Regions from separate parts of the Homo sapiens genome. Here regions 2 and 3 are each linked to region 1. Evidence: promoter capture Hi-C in 16 types of primary human blood cells and fetal thymus (Javierre and others, 2016). All regions are on one chromosome and are shown on one strand. The core of a region is centred on a gene start or on the middle of the fragment in contact, and the rest is flanking DNA. Distances in the headings are between cores, read along the strand shown.

What was found. The method cuts DNA at HindIII sites, captures the fragments that hold promoters and counts their contacts. A CHiCAGO score of 5 or more calls a contact.
Region 2: a contact is called between a fragment that was not itself captured here and the fragment with the promoter of NUP58 in region 1, in 1 of 17 cell types (neutrophils). The highest score is 5.9, in neutrophils.
Region 3: a contact is called between a fragment that was not itself captured here and the fragment with the promoter of NUP58 in region 1, in 2 of 17 cell types (total B cells and total CD4 T cells). The highest score is 6.4, in total B cells.

The regions. Positions count from the first base shown.
Region 1 is chr13:25,299,818-25,303,434 of GRCh38, forward strand. NUP58 (nucleoporin 58) reads left to right here and starts at 1,808. Exons shown (of 16, transcript NM_014089.4): 1 at 1,808-2,063. The coding sequence starts at 1,957. RefSeq lists enhancers at 1,464-1,703, 1,864-1,943, 2,054-2,103. The HindIII fragment of the contact is 2,784 bases long and covers 1-2,539 here.
Region 2 is chr13:27,241,372-27,244,988 of GRCh38, forward strand. No RefSeq gene overlaps it. Among named protein-coding and RNA genes, the nearest start is that of LINC00412, 5.9 kb to the left of the region's middle. The HindIII fragment of the contact is 3,762 bases long and covers 1-3,595 here.
Region 3 is chr13:27,172,407-27,176,023 of GRCh38, forward strand. The region is part of intron 1 of USP12-DT (USP12 divergent transcript); the gene reads left to right. Among named protein-coding and RNA genes, the nearest start is that of USP12-DT, 2.0 kb to the left of the region's middle. RefSeq lists an enhancer at 1-181. The HindIII fragment of the contact is 2,057 bases long and covers 680-2,736 here.

The DNA.
Region 1 (3,617 bases), core at 558-3,057:
AAAACCCATCTCTACTGAAAAATACAGAAATTAACCGGGCGTGGTGGCGTGCGCCTGTGATCCCAGTTACTTGGGAGGCTGAGGCAGGAGAATCGCTTGAACTCAGGAGACGGAGGTTGCAGTGAGCCGAGATGGCACCACTGTATTCCAGCCTGGGCAACAGAGCGAGACTCTGTCTCAAAATAAAGTAAAATATAAATTAAATTTAAAAAACAAAATAAAATGTACGTTTCTTTTTAATTATACAAACACAGAGGTGGTGTATTAGTCTGCTTGGCTGATACAACAAAATACCATAGACTGAGGTGGCTATAACAACAGACATTTACTTCTCTCAATTCTGGAGGCTAAGTCCCAGATAAAGATGGGGCAGTTTGGGTTCCAGGTGAAAGCCCCTTCTTGCTCTGTCCTCACATGGCACACAGAGGAGAACAAGCTCTTCGTTGTTTTTTCTCATAAGGGCACTAATCTCGCCATGGGCGACCCACCAAGGTGACCTCATCTAAATTGAATTACCTCCCAAAGGCTCCATCTCCAAATACCAACATATTGGGGTGGGGTAGGGCTTTAACATATGGATTGGGGGAGGAGGGAAATAGTTCAGTCCACAGCTGGTGGCAATGCCCAAGCTCAACGGAAGATTAAAGTACTGAATTAGGGAGAACTGTGAGATGAGGTTAGAAAGACTAATCATACGGAGGTCATCAAGTGCCAAACTAAAGAGCCACTGGGCTTTTTAGATCATAAATCCGGGGGTTGCTTATGGGATGGATTTTGTTAGAGATCACGAGTAGGAAAACCATTTGGGGGAGTAATGTAACAATCCCTGAGGGAAAAATAAAAACTAACACTATGATGACAACCCTCGAATGCACCACCACCAGGAAGCCTTTCCTGATGCTTCGCCAGAGAGGTTCTCTTTAAACGCGAATTTTTCTTGAGTTATCCTAGAAATGTAAGTTACACCTCACATTTCGCCTTCTTTCGTACATGTTCCTGTGCGTTTCCTAATCCTTCCACTTTGTAGTTCCTCCAGCACCGGTTGTGTCCGAGGGCCCTTCTGGCGGAGCCACACTCGCTCGGCCCAAGGTCCCGCCCTCCAGCATCAGGATGCACGGACAGTATTTGTGGACTTGACCGCATCCCAGGAAATCCAGCGGGCCTGGCCACTTCTGGGCGCCAGGACCACAGCCGGCCACCCCACGGACGCCTGGGACGCTCTTCTGGGCCCCCTTCGGGGCTGGGCGTCGGGCTCGCAACAACTGCGACCAACTGGCTCCGCGAGGCCTGGGGCGCAGGGGTGGGGCTCACGTCGTGGGACGGTTGCATGGATTATTTTCGATTGATTTCCGAACCTTCAGGAAGCAGACACGCTCCCCTTCCTTCTTAGGGATGGGGCGGCAGCCAACGAAAGCCCGAAGCCGCCTCCTTTTCTGAGTGGGGAGCTTAGAGATGCTCAGGAGGGACCTCCCCGATTCTGCGATTCTGAGCATCAATTTTGGCAGGAGGCTAGATAGAAGTAGCAATTGACATTCATCACCCTAAAGTGCGGATTATGTCAGTACAGATGCTACGATAGAAGAACTAAAAAATGACAGAAATGGTTTTACTGTTTTTAAACTCTGGGAGCCTACTCCTTTAAGAGATTAGGCAGTACGCCTATTCTCGCCTGGTCCCAGCGTACCTTGCGCGGCTCGCCGTCCCCCACTCACGTACCAGGGCTCATTGCGTGACGGTTACACTTCCGGCGGGCTACGTGCGCGCGGCGAGCGCCGGGCGTACTTTTGCGTGGTTGCTCCACCCCCTCAGCCTTGCCTTCGCCGCCGTTGGGGCTGGAAGTTCCCGCCAGGTCCGTGCCGGGCGAGAGAGATGCTGCCCGGCCCGCCTCGGCTTTGAGGCGAGAGAAGTGTCCCAGACCCATTTCGCCTTGCTGACGGCGTCGAGCCCTGGCCAGACATGTCCACAGGGTTCTCCTTCGGGTCCGGGACTCTGGGCTCCACCACCGTGGCCGCCGGCGGGACCAGCACAGGCGGCGTTTTCTCCTTCGGAACGGGAGCGTCTAGGTAACCGCACTTTCTCGCCTTCCTGGGCCGGATTCACCCCCACCCCCACCCCCGCAAAGCTCCCTTGGTGTCCCCATCCTGTCTCTTCCCTCTGGCTTCCTTCCCAGTGGGGCTGGAGAGAAGCACTTAATCTAGCCGCCCGGCGTCGTAGGCCTCTCGCCGCGGTACCCGGGCCCAGCGCGGCCTGGTGAAGTGGAGGGCGGGATGGGTTCTGTGCTGTGAGGTTTCCAGAATCCACGTATAGTTCAGGCATTATTTGGACCTAGTGGGGTCTTGACTGCGTGGAAGGGCCTTGGGGTCTACCCCGGAGCTTTAGCGATGTGTCAGTCTTAGGCATAGAATGAACATTGAATGAATGAATGAAATTATAGCATACTGTGGAGTTTTATGATAGATAATTCCGATTTCATTGCAGCATTTGCGGTTTTGGATATGACGGTGTTTTAATAACTTTGTGGTTTTTAACCAGCTTTTCAAGCTTTTGTGCCACATGGGACCTTATCTGTTTTTGTTAAAAAAAACAAAAACACTTTTTTACAGTGTTTATTAGTGGTAATTTTCTGCAGTATGTGCAGATTAGTATATCTGATGCGAGAATGTTGTGTTGTAATAACTCAATTTGTCTTTTACTTAAATTACAAAACGTAGGTAGCATGTTCCTTGTTTTTGTGCAACCCATTAGTTCAGGTGGCGACAAAAACATAACTATCCAGAAAGAAACAAAGTGGTGAGACATTTTAATGAGAGATTTAAGCTTTAGAACTCAATTTTTTTTAAGATAAAGGTGGAGGGGTTCATAAAGTTAAGGAGTGTGCACACTGTCAACAAGATACTTCCTGAAGCTTAAAAGATGTGGCTGTAGATTTAAAAGGCAAATACTTAAGCATGACCTGCAGTTTAAAAAGGGAGGGAGGAGGAACCACGGACTACACAGTCAATTCAGAAATTTGAATTTTCATCCATACCTCCGTTATTCTTACTCTACTCGCTCAACAACAGGTTCTGATAATGTTACTTCTGCCATTTCTGTTTGTCTTTATTTCCAGTTCCACAACCCTGCTTAGGCTATTGTCATTCGTGGAACAAATATTTATTGGACAGATTCCCATGTGCAAGGCTCTGTTTTAGGTATTAAGAGTCTTGCTCTCTTGATCCTTACATTCTTATGAAAATAATTTTGATTCTTGTCAGATTTTTAACCAGCTGTCTTTCTTGTTTTAGATGAAAACTACTCCAATCAACTTCTTCAATCTGTTCTGCCACATTTTAGCCAGAGTAATTGAAAAACAAAATTCCCATTGCTCTCTCTTTAATCATTACCCGCCATCGTTAGAATGAAGTTTAAAAAAGAAAAAAAAACTTACCATAGTCTGCAAGGTCCACTTCTGCTGGAACCTCTGGGGACTCATCTTGAGCGGGACTCATCTTGAGCCCATCTTTTTATTTTAGCTATGCAGACCCACTGTTAAAAACAAACACACAACTACCACCCTAAATAACTGAAATGAAGTTTCAGAGAAAGATACCCTTACTTCATGGGATGCACTTTGATAT
Region 2 (3,617 bases), core at 465-2,964, 1.9 Mb after region 1:
AGAGAAAAATGCTAATAAAATTGGGATTTACTTTGGGAAGCCATTTTGCAATATTTTATGAAGTTAGACATACACCTACTGATATGGTTTGCCTCCGCGTTCCCCACCCAAATCTCATCCTGAACTGTACTCCCATAATTCCCACATGTTGTGGGAGGGACCCGGTGGGAGATAATTTGAATCATGGAGGTGGTTTACTCCATACTGTTCTCATGGTAGTGAATAAGTCGCATGAGATCTGATGTTTTTATCAGGAGTTTCCACTTTTGCATCTTTCTCATTCTCTCTTGCCTGCTGTGATGTAAGACGTGCCTTTACCTCCCACCATAATTGTGGGGCCTCCCCAGCCACATGGAACTATAAGTCAAAGTAAACCTCTTTCTTTTGTAAATTACCCAGTCTCAGGTATGTCTTTATCAGCAGCGTGAAAACAGACTAATACACCTACCTTACGATCAAGGAATGTAACTCCTAAGCTGGGCTCAGTAGCGCACATCCATTGTCCCAGCTACTCTGGAGGCTGAGATAGGGGGATTGTTTGTGCTCAGGAGTTTGGGGCTGTAGTGAGCTATGATCACACCACTGAACTCCAGCATGAGCAACACAGCGAGACCCACAAAAATTATGTACAACTCAAACTGCCATCAAGAGGAGAACAGAAAAATAAATTGTGATATATTCTACAGTGGAATACTACTTTCACAATAAAAAGAATTGAACTACTAGTACATGCAATATGATTGATTCTCAACGACATTCAGCTAAACAAAAAGAGCCACAGGAAAAAAAAGTACAAACTGTATGGTACCATTCATAGGAAATCCAAGATTAGGCAAAACTAACTTATGGTTATAGAAATCAGAATATTGGCCAGGCAGGCTGGCTCATGCCTGTAACCCCAGCACTTTGGGAGGTCAAGGTGGGAGGATCATTAGAGGCCAGGAGTTCAAGACCTGCCTATATAACATAGCAAGATCCCATCTCAATCAATGAATCAAACAGAAATCAGAATATTGTTTTTAGTCAGGGAGGGGGTTGACTGGAAGGGATGTCTACCCTATGTTTATTGGAGCAGGGAGAGTGCAATTCTGGTCCCCTTAGTTTTGATGTGGGTAGGGAGTACCTTCCTAAGAATATGCACATGGGACAGGAGTTAAGGCCCCCAAGTAAATGGAGGTCTAGTAGGAAGAAGGAATGAGTTTGAGTAGCTAAAAAACAATGTCCCAATGTCCACTCCGTAACCCAACTCCTCATTTAGTATTGGAATGCCTTCAACATCCAATTCAGCTAAAACAATATGAGTTAAACTAATTATTAGGTATCCTGCATCTAAATAATTCATCCCTAGGGGCTCCAGATTAAAATGATGGATTAAATACCCTCATCTAATTTTGTTACCTCCGAGAATCCCATTGGGTGTGTGTGCGTGTGTGTGTGTGTGTGTGGGTGTGTGTGTGTGTCTAACGACCTAAACCATATGCATGGGGAAGATAAAAAATAACAGCAACATTTTGAAAGCTGAAAAACAGATGGACAAATGCCAGCTGACGTAGGTGACTTGAGAAAGCTCAATCCCAAAACAGCAATGGAAAAACCTGAAGAGCGACTTTTTGTACACTGTAGAATCTTCTAAATGCATAGGAATAGGTACCACCCATTACCTCCTAGGAGTTTCATAAGAATTAAGTAAGATAATATTTGTAAGTGCTTACTGGCACATAGAATGAGCCCTCAGGAAATATCAGCTATCACTACCACTGTCATGCCTTTGGTTAAAACGAGTCAGATTCTCAACTGTCTATAGAAAAAGATTAAGCATTCTTTTTTTCTTTTTTTGTAATGGGCACAGAGGATATTTATTTAAGATGGTGGTTTTCAAACTTTTAAAAAAGTAGCAGACCGCTTGTTTTGTAAATGAACCTTACTATAGGAAGCAGATAAATGTGGCACTCCTCGGGGAGCAGCAAGGGTGAGGGGCCTGGGCTCTACCCTCTCACTTTCCACCTTGTCCTTTAAAGGAGACTCTGACATCCCTGAGGAACACAATTGGTTTAGAGGGAAAGGGAAAAGAGGTTAACATTTAGACATGTAAATGAACGAATAAAATAAATGAATAGGGAAAAAAGGAAACCCTTTCCTTAATGTGGAAGTAGAAGTGGAGCTGGAAAATCACCGCTTTGTAACCATCACAGTAAAAATTGCAAGAATCACGATGAATACTTAATCCAGGAGGGAAAGTTTGTTTAGAAGCAAGATATTTGCGTGATCTTCGTGCAAACAGATGGCACATAAGGGAGAAAACGCTGCTTATACCAGGGCAAATATTACTGACCTGCAGACTAGAGAAACATGAATGTCACCTAAGGCAAGAAAAGGCTGAAGTGCTTCAGATTAAAAGCTAAGAGAGACACAGCGACTATTAATAAATACAACATATGATTTCTGACTGGATCATGTAAAAAAAAAATGCCATAAAGGACATTATTGGGACAACTGACATTTGAAATGTGGATTGTAAATGTGATACCAGCCAGGAGCCTGCAATCCCAACACTTTAGGAGGCTGTGGCAGACAGATCACTTGAGCTCAGAAGTTCAAGACCAGCCTGGGCCACATGGTGAAACCCCCTCGCTATAAGAAATTAAAAAATTAGCTGGGTGTGGTGGCACCTGTGGTCCTAGTTACTTGGGAGGCTGAGGTGGGAGGATGGCTTGAGCCTAGGAGGTGGAGACTGTAGTGAGCTAGGATCATGCCACTGCACTCCAGCCTGGGCCATAAAGCAAGACTCTGTCCAAAAAAAAAAAAAAAAAAAAAAATTGATATAAGCATTGTATCAGTTTTGTTTCCTGAATTTGATAAATGTACTGTGGTTATATGAGAGAATGTCCTCATTCTTAGGAGACACAAATCAGTACAGTATATGGCCTAAAGAGGAAAAGATATGTGTGACCCACTCTCAAACAATTTAGAAAAAAACATATACAGTGTGTTTACATAGATGGAGAAAACAGTGGTTCTCAAAGTGGGATCCCTGGAGGAGCAGCAGTGTCACCTGGGAACTTGTTAGCAATACGAATTCTTGGGCTCAACTCAAACCTACTAAATCACCTGTCTGGGGTGGGGGCCAGGAGTCTGTGTTTTAACCTTAGCCTTCCTGGTCGTTCAGATACATGCTAAACTTTGAAAACCACTGATACAGAGAGAATGAGAAAACAAATGTGGTGAAATGTTACAATCAGTGAATGCAGAGAAAGGGCATACAGGGGTCTTCTGTAATATTCTTGAAACTTTTCTGTAAGTTTGAAATTGTTTCAAGATAAATATTAAAAACAAAATTACCCTGGTACAATAAGTGTAGACATGTGGAAAGGAGACCTGGGAGGTAGGAAAGCAAATCACAGAGTTAACACAGGAACCATGCATGAGGTGATGTAATTTACAACTAAGACTGCTGCCACTCCAGTGCTGAGTGAGGACAGGCTATCTGCAGAGTCTTCAAATAACAAATCTCCTCCTTGCAGAACATTTGGGCACCAATCATACTAATCTAAATAGGACAGTCCGGCAATCTCTGTAGAGAGGTTTCCTTCAGAAAAGCTTTCAGGGAGCATGAGGAA
Region 3 (3,617 bases), core at 458-2,957, 1.9 Mb after region 1:
ACGTATATTGGATGAATCACCGGAGTCAAACACAACTTAGAAAAAGACAAAATAATTAAACAAAAATGAAGAGGCAAAGAACAAATTACACATGTTTAACTCTTTGAATTAAGAAGAAAGATAAGTAATGGGGGAAGGAGAGGAGCGAAACCTGTTGGCCTGTTGGCGATAAATTTATAATAGGCTTCTAAATATCTGCACATTGAGCTGCAAAATAGGGAGGATCTCAAGCCAGCAGTGATGATGATATTACCAGAGACAGGAAGCCCGCAAGCAAGAAAAATGCCCTGTGAGAAATCCTTAGGCAGTGCTGGCTACTGGCATGGGTAGTTCCTCTTTCTCCTTTTATAAAATTCATATTTGCACCCTGTTCTTCATGCCTGGCAGCTCAGCTTTATTTTTTCCTATTTGAGAAAGTAGTTCAAGTGAGTAGAATAACTTCATAAATTATTATGTTAGAAAGCTTGTGATATTTTCTGATTGAACTCGTGATGGGGTACTTTTCTGGGTTCCCCTAATTCAGTGGGGTTGAGGATCTGAATTCAGGCAGAGCTGTAAAATCAGAAATGCCTCACCTCAAGGGTTCAAAGCACTCAAAAACAAAAAGCATTCAAACAAAATTTAAGTGAAAAATAGACTTCTGGTACATGAATACTGTTTCCATAGTGATTCCATTATAAGCTTGCTTGGGGGGGGAATGCAGATTGAATATAGCCAAGCCCCATGGTAGCCGGACTGGATCTCCAAGCGCCTGCCTCCATGGAAGCCAAGAGCCCTGATACCCCAGCCAGGGGCTTTCCTCTCTATACTTGCAAGCATCACCCACCTGAATTCTTTCTTGCTCTTTTCTACCCCCTGTTTGGACAAGGGTTTCTACATCTTAGACCTCTAGGGCCTACCTGGGCCTTGTCCGAGTGTCACCATGCCCATCTGTGTGCCCGTCCTGATAAATAGCTGTGGTCATCCTGTCCTTCCCACTTGCTGTTCTATTCCAGCAAACAGGTCTGATGTGCCAGAATTTTAGACCTGCCTCCATCCCGCTAACCACCCATATGCCTCCTTGTCCATTAATCCGAACATGTCACAGGAACAAAAGCCACTGGCTTTACATATAAGTTTATATAAGAACAAGGCCTTTCTAAAATGAATTTCTAGGCTGAGTATGGTGGCTCACACCTGTAATTCCAGCACTTTGGGAGGCCGAGGCAGGTGGATCACTTGAGGTCAGGAGTTGGAGACCAGCCTGGCCAACGTGGTGAAATCCCGTCTCTACTAAAATACAAAAATTAGCCAGGCGTAGCAGTGTACGCCTGTAATCCCAGCTACTCAGGAGGCTGAGGCATAAGAATAGATTGGATCCTGGAGGTGGAGATTGCAGTGAACTGGGATTGTGCCATTGCACCCCAGCCTGGGTGACAGAGTGAGACTCTCTCAAAAATAAATAAATAAATAAATTTCTAGGCTGGGCACAGTGGATCAGGCCTGTAATCCCAGCACTTTGGGAGGCTGAGGCAGGAGGATGGCTTCCAACTTCCTTGAGACCAGGGAGTTCAAGACCAGCCTGGGCAACATAGTGAGACCTTGTCTCTACTAAAAATAAAAATAAATACGTGGTGCATGGTGGCGCATACCTATAGTCCCAGCTACTTGTGAGGCGAAGTAAGAGGATAACTTAAGCCCGAGATATCCAGGTTGCAGTGAGCCATGATTGAACCACTGCACTGTAGCCTGAGCGACAGACTGAAACAGTATCTCAAAAATACAGCACAGTGGCTCTCGCCTGTTGTAATCCCAGCACTTTGGGAGGCCAAGGCGGGCGGATCACTTGAGGTCAGGAGTTTGAGACCAACCTGGCCAACATGGAGAAAGCCCATCTCTACTAAAACTACAAAAATTAGTTGGGCATGGTGGCGAGCACCTGTAATCCAAGCTACTAGGGAGGCTGAGGCAGGAGAGTCGCATGAACCTGGGAAAAACCAGTGAGCCGAGATCATGCTACTGCACTCCAGCTTGGGCGACAGAGTAAGATTCCGTCTCAAAAATTAAATTAAATTAAATTTTAAAAAGTAAAATGGATTTCTGATAGAATTATCTGGAGTCATGTCTAGTTGATGTTGGAGCCATCTAAATTCACAGGTAAAGTCATGAAACCTAATCACAGAGCCTCACAATGCCTTGTCTCCACAGCCTATGGTCGATTGGAGAGACACAAACATAAAAGAGACATTCTTGAATCTATGTGCTAGGTGTTGTACTGAGTGTTCTTTACCATATGTAATGCAGTTGGAGAATAAGTTTGGCTGAAACTCCACACTTTTGCACCCTGAGCTTGGAAAGGGTAATCTGGCTTTAGAACACAGCTTTACACAGCTGTGTAATCAGCTTTACAAAGAGCTTCCCTGTGCCTAGCAAAAGATGAGTTTGTGTACAACTGACTCCTTTTCGGCCTTCTTGAATATGCAAACTACAAAATATGCCCAGATGCCTCAGGGACCAGGCAAGTAAATGAACTATGTCCAACCTTAATCCATTTAGTCAGCACAGCATTTTATAATGTTTTCATTTGCATACTGTTACACAATCCTACACTCTCCAGTTCCTTACAGTCTGCCTCAAATTTTCCTTTACTCATTCTGTTCAACAGTTTAACACAAGTCACTTTATTATATAGTTCTGCTACCTCTTTTCTCCCTGAAGGCATGTGGGTTTATACCAGCTCACATAAATGATTCGTGAAGCTTTGCTTGTGATGGGTTGGGAAAGAAAGTGATGGGGAGTGGTCCAAGAAGGGGTGTAAACATTTTATCTAATCCTTGCAACAACCTAATGAAGCAGGTGTTACGATTATCCCCACGTTTAGATAAGGAAACCAAGGCACAGAGATAACTTTTCCAGGGTTGCACAACTAACTAGTAAGCAATGGAACCAAGGTTTGAACCTAGCTCCAGGAGCCACACCTGTGTCCACTCCACTACACTAGCTTTGTAAAAGTATTTTATTTTGATTCTGACAGGATGAGGTTGAGAGGCACGACTCCTTTCGGACTTGCATGAAGGTTTAAGCTACAAAAAAAAAATACTCAAATCGATATTTCTTTGTTTCACTTTCCTCATCTGGAAAATAAGGGTAATAATTATGTTACAACGATAAAACATGTTTCAAATAGTGCCTGGCGCTCAACACAAAATGGAAAGTTTAGAATGGACATTCAAAGTCAACATTTTAAAAGTTGGGGGGCCGTGCGCAGTGGCTCATGCCTGTAATCCCAGCACTTTGGGAGGCCGAGGCAGGCAGATCACGAGGTCAGGACATCAAGACCATCCTGGCTAACCCGGTGAAACCCCTTCTCTACTAAAAAATACAAAAAATTAGCCGGGCATGGTGGCGGGCGCCTGTAGTCCCAGCTACTCGGGAGGCTGAGGCAGGAGAATGGCGTGAACCTGGATGGCAGAGCTTGCAGTGAGCCAAGGTCGCGCCACTGCACTCCAGCCTGGGCAACCGAGCGAGACTCCGTCTCAAAAAAAAAAAAATTTAAAAAAAAAAAAAGTTGGGGTGGGCAAATACAGCCCTCGGGCTGCCAGCTTGCTCCTCCAGATTTAATGAGCCTCTGCTATGTG